2 separate regions of the Homo sapiens genome follow, and region 1 is linked to region 2. The links are contacts of gene promoters, found by promoter capture Hi-C in human tissues and cell types (Jung and others, 2019). All regions are on one chromosome and are shown on one strand. The core of a region is centred on a gene start or on the middle of the fragment in contact, and the rest is flanking DNA. Distances in the headings are between cores, read along the strand shown.

The links. The method cuts DNA at HindIII sites, captures the fragments that hold promoters and counts their contacts. A contact is called where the count stands out against the background at its distance.
Region 1: a contact is called between a fragment that was not itself captured here and the fragment with the promoter of RAB38 in region 2, in 2 of the 25 tissues and cell types used here (lymphoblastoid cells and mesenchymal stem cells).

The regions. Positions count from the first base shown.
Region 1 is chr11:88,437,421-88,440,816 of GRCh38, reverse strand. No RefSeq gene overlaps it. Among named protein-coding and RNA genes, the nearest start is that of GRM5-AS1, 65 kb to the left of the region's middle. The HindIII fragment of the contact is 9,638 bases long and covers 1-3,396 here.
Region 2 is chr11:88,173,379-88,177,113 of GRCh38, reverse strand. It overlaps RAB38 (RAB38, member RAS oncogene family), which reads left to right and starts at 1,671. Exons shown (of 3, transcript NM_022337.3): 1 at 1,671-1,931. The coding sequence starts at 1,730. MIR3166 (microRNA 3166) reads right to left here and starts at 612; the gene lies at 521-612. The HindIII fragment of the contact is 10,731 bases long and covers 1-3,735 here.

The sequences.
Region 1 (3,396 bases), core at 493-2,992, 260 kb before region 2:
TAAATAGCATATAAATTGAAAAAGAACAAGTAGTACTATCCTTATTCACAGAAGACATGATTGTCTACATAGCAAATCCCAAGCAATCTACCAAAAAAATATTAAAAATAATGAGCGAGTTCACCAAGGTTGCAGGATACAAAATCAACACACAAAAGTTAATTGCATTTCTACATACTAGCAAAATTAAAAACAAAATGGCATTTACAAATGTTCCAAAGAAAACAAAGTACTTGGGTATAAATATAAAAACCTTGTACAATATCTATATGATAAAAATTATAAAATACTAATAAAATAAATAAAAGATGACCTAAACTAATGAAGAGACATACTACATTTATGCATCGAAAGACCGAAAACAGTAAAGATATGAATTCTCCCCAAATTGATCTATAGGTTTAACAAACTTTCTATTAAAATCCCACTAAGAACTTTTGTGAATATAGACAAAATTATTATAAAACATATACAGAAGTTAAAGGACCTAGAATAGCTAAAACAATTTTGAAAAAGAAGAATAAAGTGATAGCAATCCCCCTACCTAATGTTAAAACTTATTACACAACTACAGCCATGAAGACAATGTAGTTTTGGCAGAGGGATAGGCACGTAATTCAATAGAACACAACAAAGAGCTCAGAAAGAGCCCCACACAAATATCATCAACTGATTTTTGACAAAGGTCCAAGAGCTAATTTGATGGAGCAATTATAGTCTTCAAAATAATCGTGCCAGATTAATTAGACATACAGATTGGGGGGAAAAATACACGTCAATTTAAATAAGAAAGAAAAGAAGAAAACATATGCAAAAATCTTCAGGACCTAAAACGATATAAAGAGTTCCTATTCTTAACACAAAACCATGCTCCATAAAATGTAAAACTGATCTCTTTTTTTTTTTAAGTAAAAACTTTTTCTCCGCAGAAGACCCTGTGAAGGAGATAAAAAGACAGTAAGATCCAGGCTGAGAGAAGACACTTAGAAACCATATATCCAACAAAGGAATAGTATCTAGAATACGTAAAGAACTCTCAAAACACAACAGTAAAAAATTACAGAATTCAACTAGAAAATGAGCAATAGACATGAATAGATGGTAATAAGCATATAAAAAGATGTTCAGTATCTTTAGCCATTAAAAGAAGACAAATTAAAACTGCAGTGAGAAACCACCAGACATCTATCAGAATGACTAAAATGAAAACTTGTGATAACAAGAAATCCTGATGATGCAGAAAAACTGGATCATTCGTACAATGCTGGTGGGAATATAAACTGGTACGACCAGTCTGGAAGAATAAGGCAGTTTCTTATAAAACTAGGTGAAAGGTACATGAGATTTCTTCGACATTTTTTTTTTCAATCTCCTATACATTACTACAAAGCAAAAAAATTTAAAATACATATTTACTGTTATCTTCTGTGTGATCATATTTAAACATTCTTAATTGACTTCCTATTATAGAAAATGAGGATTTTAACTTTTTTTTATTCTCCCTTTCCCTTCATCCCTCTCTTCCCCCATTATAGTTATTATGACAAGTATTGGTTAAATCTGTGTTTAGTATTTGTATAATTATGGTATTATAAATATTATTCACTGATGAAACAGGTAGCCTATTATCACTACATTTATTTTCTTGAATAAATTCCTACTTACACTGGTGTTAAAACCTCCTCTTTGTCCCATTCGTTTAGAGTAAATATATAGCTACGCCTTGGCCCTACTTTTTTGACAACTATACACAATTTTATACACAGAACACCTGCCAATTCCATTTCCCCCTCAGAGACTTTGCTGAGATTTCCTGTCCTGTACTTTGCTCTGGATGCTGGTCTACATAAGTTGTGCTGCATGGTGGAAGACCTGGAAGTTCTGTCATCATTCTGGGAATTCTCCTCACTTGGTTCCTGTGTTTGGTTCCCTGCTTCCTCAATTTGATGTTGTCCTGTCTTGGTTTACTCCCTTTTTTTTTTTTTTTTTTTGGTGGTGCACATATCTAGCAGCTTCCTGAGAAGACCTACATGCAGACAAATATTTTATATGGCTGAAACTATTTTAAATTTACCTTATACCTGATTGATTAGTGAGCTGGGCTATGATTCTACACTGAAAAAAAAATTTCGTCTCAAAATTTAGATTAGTACATAATAAAAAATTAATGCATTTATCTACAATTTTTTATTCTTAACATAAAGAATCTTAAATTTTATACATCTTAATCTTTATATATACTGTTTTTTACTACCTAGATCAATTTAAAATGAACCTTTATCATTGTAAATTTATGATTATTTCTTTGGGTGAATTCTCAGTGGGCCTTTTCCACCAGGAAACTCCTAAGAATTTTTCTTTTATCATTTCTTTGACAATTTCCTTCCTTCCATTTCCTGCTCCTTTTGTTCCCAAAATCCTTTGGCTAAACAACACCTTCTAAAGTAATGCCCTAAATTTTATTTTATTTTATTTGTTTGTTTGTTTTGAGACATTGTCTCGCTCTGTCACCCAAGCTGGAGTGCAGGGGTGCTATCTCAGCTCAATGCAAGCTCCGCCTCCCCGGTTCACGCCATTCTCCTGCCTCAGCCTCCCAAGTAGCTGGGACTACAGGCACCTGCCACCATGCCTGGCTAATTTTTTGTATTTTTTAGTAGAGGCCAGGTTTCACCGTGTCAGCCAGGATGGTCTTGATCTCCTCACCTCATGATCTGCCCTCCTCGGCCTCCCAAAGTGCTGGGATTACAGGCGTGAGCCAACGCACCTGGCCTATTTCTTCCATTTTTATCTCTGCCTTTTTTGCTGTACTTTGTGGATGATTTCATTGACTTTATATTCTAAACATTTTACATTTTTAAAAATTTTGAATACCATATTTTATTTTCTGATAATTTTCTTGCTTTCTGATTGTTTTTTAAAGCACTTGGATTACATCTCACCAATACAATATCTTCCCTTATCTCTGTGGCTATTAATTATAATTTCTTTCATATTTTCTTCTACTTATTGGGTTGTCCGTAATTTTTCTAAGTTCCTCTTTCGTTTCTGTTTGCTTTATTTCTGTCTTTCATTTTAGGTATGTCCCACAATATTCAGTGATTGTTTCTTATTCATATTTAAAAGTGAGACCCTAAAGAGCTTATTGAAAGTTCTGTGCATATATTCAGGGCTTCTTAATTGGTATATATCACTCTAAACTGACCAGGAAGTATTTTAGACTTTTTTTACACTTCTCCAAATTTCAGTATATGTAGGCCCCTTCTCTGAATCAGTTGTGTTTCTTTCACTTTTCCTCCAGAGGAGAATCCTTTAAACTTCTATCAGGGGATATAAGCCCAGCTACTGACATTTTGAAGCTAGTTGAACAAATGGATCTGAGATGGGAAATCTTACCTT
Region 2 (3,735 bases), core at 422-2,921:
CTGCTTGTTTGGGGCATGTGGAGGCTAAAGTTTAGGGAGTGTCAGGCCAGAAGAGGAAGGCAGAAAGACAATGGCCTTGCCAAACCTCCTTTCTCCCTTTCACACAGGCCTGTGTTTAAGTCCTAGTTCTAACACATACTAGTTATGTGTGCCCTTGAGAAAGCTGCTGTTAATCTTGGTTTCCTTATTTATAAATTGAAGAAAATAACCCACTTCATAAAGCAATTGAGAAGATGAAATGATAGAATGTGAGCAGAGCTCCTTCACAGCACATTCAGGTACAAAATAGCTCATTTTGGTATAAACTGCTCACCCCCTAGCCCTGAATGCCCAATTTCTCATTTTCTTTATGTCTTTACTAAATTGTCTCCATCTTACTGAAACCTTCCCTGGCCACCCTATCTAAAAGGCAAACCCCATATAATCTCTTCACATCCCCTTTCTGCCTTATTTTATTACCAATTAATATATGACAAATTGTATTTATTTTGTCTTGTCCTGTCTCCACCCACAAGAAGGTAAATTTTTCTTAGGCCAGTAGGCATTGTCTGCGTTAGGAGGATGATACAGAAATCCTAACGCAGACAATGCCTACTGGCCTCAAAAAAATTTACCTTCTTGTAGGTGGAGACAGACAAGACAAAATAAGTACAATTTGTCATATATTAATTGGTAATAAAATGTATATTGGTCAAATGAATGAAAACAAACAACAAAAACAACAAAAAGAAGTTGGGAACCTAAAGACCTATGTTTGAATTTGGTTTTTTTCCTTACTATTTGACTCTGGGTCCATTACTTAAAATGTCTGGTCCTTAGCTTCCTCATTTGTAAAATAGGAAGAAAAATGGTATCTATTATTAAGACAGCTGGGATGACTAAATGACATAATTTATAAACCCTCTGGCATATAGCGAGTGCTCAATAAATGTTTGCCATTATTATTATTTGTAATAATCTGACCGATTGTTAAAACTGTCTTTCTGTGCAGCTCTGAGTTTTTAGGATATGGGAAGAGGCTAAAAGTCACCAGTGCCCTTGGCATTTTCGGCCCAGTTGTCCTCCTTGTTAACTGATTACCAGTTGAATGGGTGTGAAAGTGCTCAGTGTTCCCACCTCCAAGCTGCTCAGAGGTCAGCATTGCCATTCATTGAGAAATAACAGGCTGTGAGAGCTCAAATGACTTACTTATGGTCCCTCAACTTAAAAACCAGGGCACGCAGGAACCAAGCCCAGCCAGTCTTGGGCTTCCTAATACTGTAATTTCTCTCTACAGTGTGGGGTAGTTAAGAGCCTGTGACTTCAGACCTGTGGTCAACGGGGCCTTTCACCGGCCATCTCCCGCAGAGTACTTTTTCACAATCAGTTTTCTCGCAAGCAAAACGTGGAAAATAAGATCCACACCTCACAAGTTTGTGGCCAGGGTCACAGGTGAAAACAGCTCTTCGGAAACTCTAAAGCGCCGGATAAATAAGCGCTGCAACAGGCAACCACACGCGAACCCCTTTCAGCTGCCAGTCCCGGGACTCGCTCCTGTCTCCTCCCCTCTCCAAGACCGCGGAGTAGGAAGGAGGATTAACCCCTAGGGGAGGAGTTCCGCCCCCCAGCCCCCGCCCCGCCGCCCACGCCTCTCTCTGCACCTACACTTGCGCTCCCCAAGTCTCTCTCGTGCGCAGAGCCCAGGCTGCGCTTCCCTGGTCAGGCACGGCACGTCTGGCCGGCCGCCAGGATGCAGGCCCCGCACAAGGAGCACCTGTACAAGTTGCTGGTGATTGGCGACCTGGGCGTGGGGAAGACCAGTATCATCAAGCGCTACGTGCACCAGAACTTCTCTTCGCACTACCGGGCCACAATCGGCGTGGACTTCGCGCTCAAGGTGCTCCACTGGGACCCGGAGACTGTGGTGCGCCTGCAGCTCTGGGATATCGCAGGTGAGCGCGGGGGGAGGGGGTCAGGGGGATAGAGCGCCTCGCGGCCGGTTTCCAGTCTCGAGGCAGCGGCTTGCGGCCAAGCGTGAGATTAAAATCACTAGGTCGCGAGGCAGTTTTTCCTGGTGGGCTGGAAACTTAGTTTCAAAGAAAAGAAAAACGTCTGAAACTTCAAGTGCATTCCCTGGCGCTTTTGGGCTATTGCTTTAGCTCCTTCCCGCACAGTCCCCTGGGATCTCTCTGCCCAGAGCAGGCCTCCCCAGGGAACCAGAGGAAGATTGTCTGCAATTGCATTCTGTTCTCCACTCCAGCTCGTTTTCTGGGCGCGGGCAGTTCTGCCAATGACGCAGCCCAGTGTCACGCACGTCCTTCCGTGCAGGGGCGGACCGAGGGGAAGCCCCTAGGCTGGTTCACAGAGGAAACCGGGATAGTTCCAGGCTAGCTGGAGTTTGCCCATTCCTGTCTTCAGTGGCTCACTTTATTTCAAATTTTGTCACCTTTCTCTCTGCCCTTAAGACAAAGGAGTTTGAGGGTTTTTGTTTTGTTTTTTTTTTTTTTTTTTTTTGCTTTTTGCTTACAGTAAGCCAAGTACTTTTGTGTGTATATGTCAGGGGCAAAGTATTCTTTCTCCCTCTCTTTCTGTATTTCTATCTCTCTGGCTCTCTGTCTTCTATGAAAAGGAGGTTGTGTGTATATTTTAAGGCCATTTTTATGTAAGGGCCTATGATAGCCTTATGATTTCTTGATTTGGCCCTAAAGTTTTCATTGAGAGATCTGAAAAATGAGAGGTTGTTTGTTTTTGTTTTTTACAATATTTAAAATCAGATTTTGACTCCACAGGTTTGTACCAGAAGTTAGGCCTAGTCAAAAGTGAGGGTGCAATGTATCTACTCCAAGTGTGAATCCTTGGACAAGGCTGTTTGCAACCTGCGCATGACCAACCCCTCATTACAGATTTTAGCCCTGCCACTAACTAACCTGCTCAGTGGCTTTGGACAAGTCTCTTCAGCTCAGTTGCATCGCTGTTAAGTGGAAAGGAGTTGGGCAAGGGTCAAGGATCTTCCTGCTCAGAAGTTTTAAAGTCCTCTGGGATTCTCCATGGGAACAACTTCAAACAGTCTTATTTCATGGTCTGTGACACCAGGAACCTTTCGTTATAAGTGCTGGACCCAAACTAGCCACTTCTGTTTCAGAAAATGGATTCATTTTAGCTGATGCATTTGATTGGAAACTCTTTATCATGGCTTGAAACTAGAACAAATGTGGAAAATTTTTGAAAGGGCATTTGTGATCTGGGGACTTTCGTGCCTCTTTAATCATGAACTGCCAGGCCTTTTTCTTTTAGCATGTGAACAGATGAACAGATTCATGCATTTGGAGTCATCTTCAGCTGCTCTAGTAGCAAGGGGGTTATCAGAGAACAGAAAATGTTATCAGCCACTGTTGGATGGGGCTTTTCATCTAAAAAAATTCTCTCTGTGTACTTTCTTGCTGCATGTCATAATGTCTGAAAACCCTTCTGGCTGCTCGAAAGTCCTCAGGATTCAGATTTAGAAACGGCTTACTGTTTAAACGGGGATGTAGCTGTAATTTGGACTTCTGTGTACAATCCAGGTAACAGCATGACAGCAGAGAAGTTCTATGTCTGTAGATTTCAGTCTCCTCACATAAACAGAAGAGATGGAAGGGTACAGTGATTAATAGCCCAAATTCCAGAGTTGAACTGCCTCCATCTGGATCCTTACTTTACTCTGCATGTAGTAGGCAATCTTAGGTAAGTTCTCTAACCTCCTTGTTTTGGTTTCCT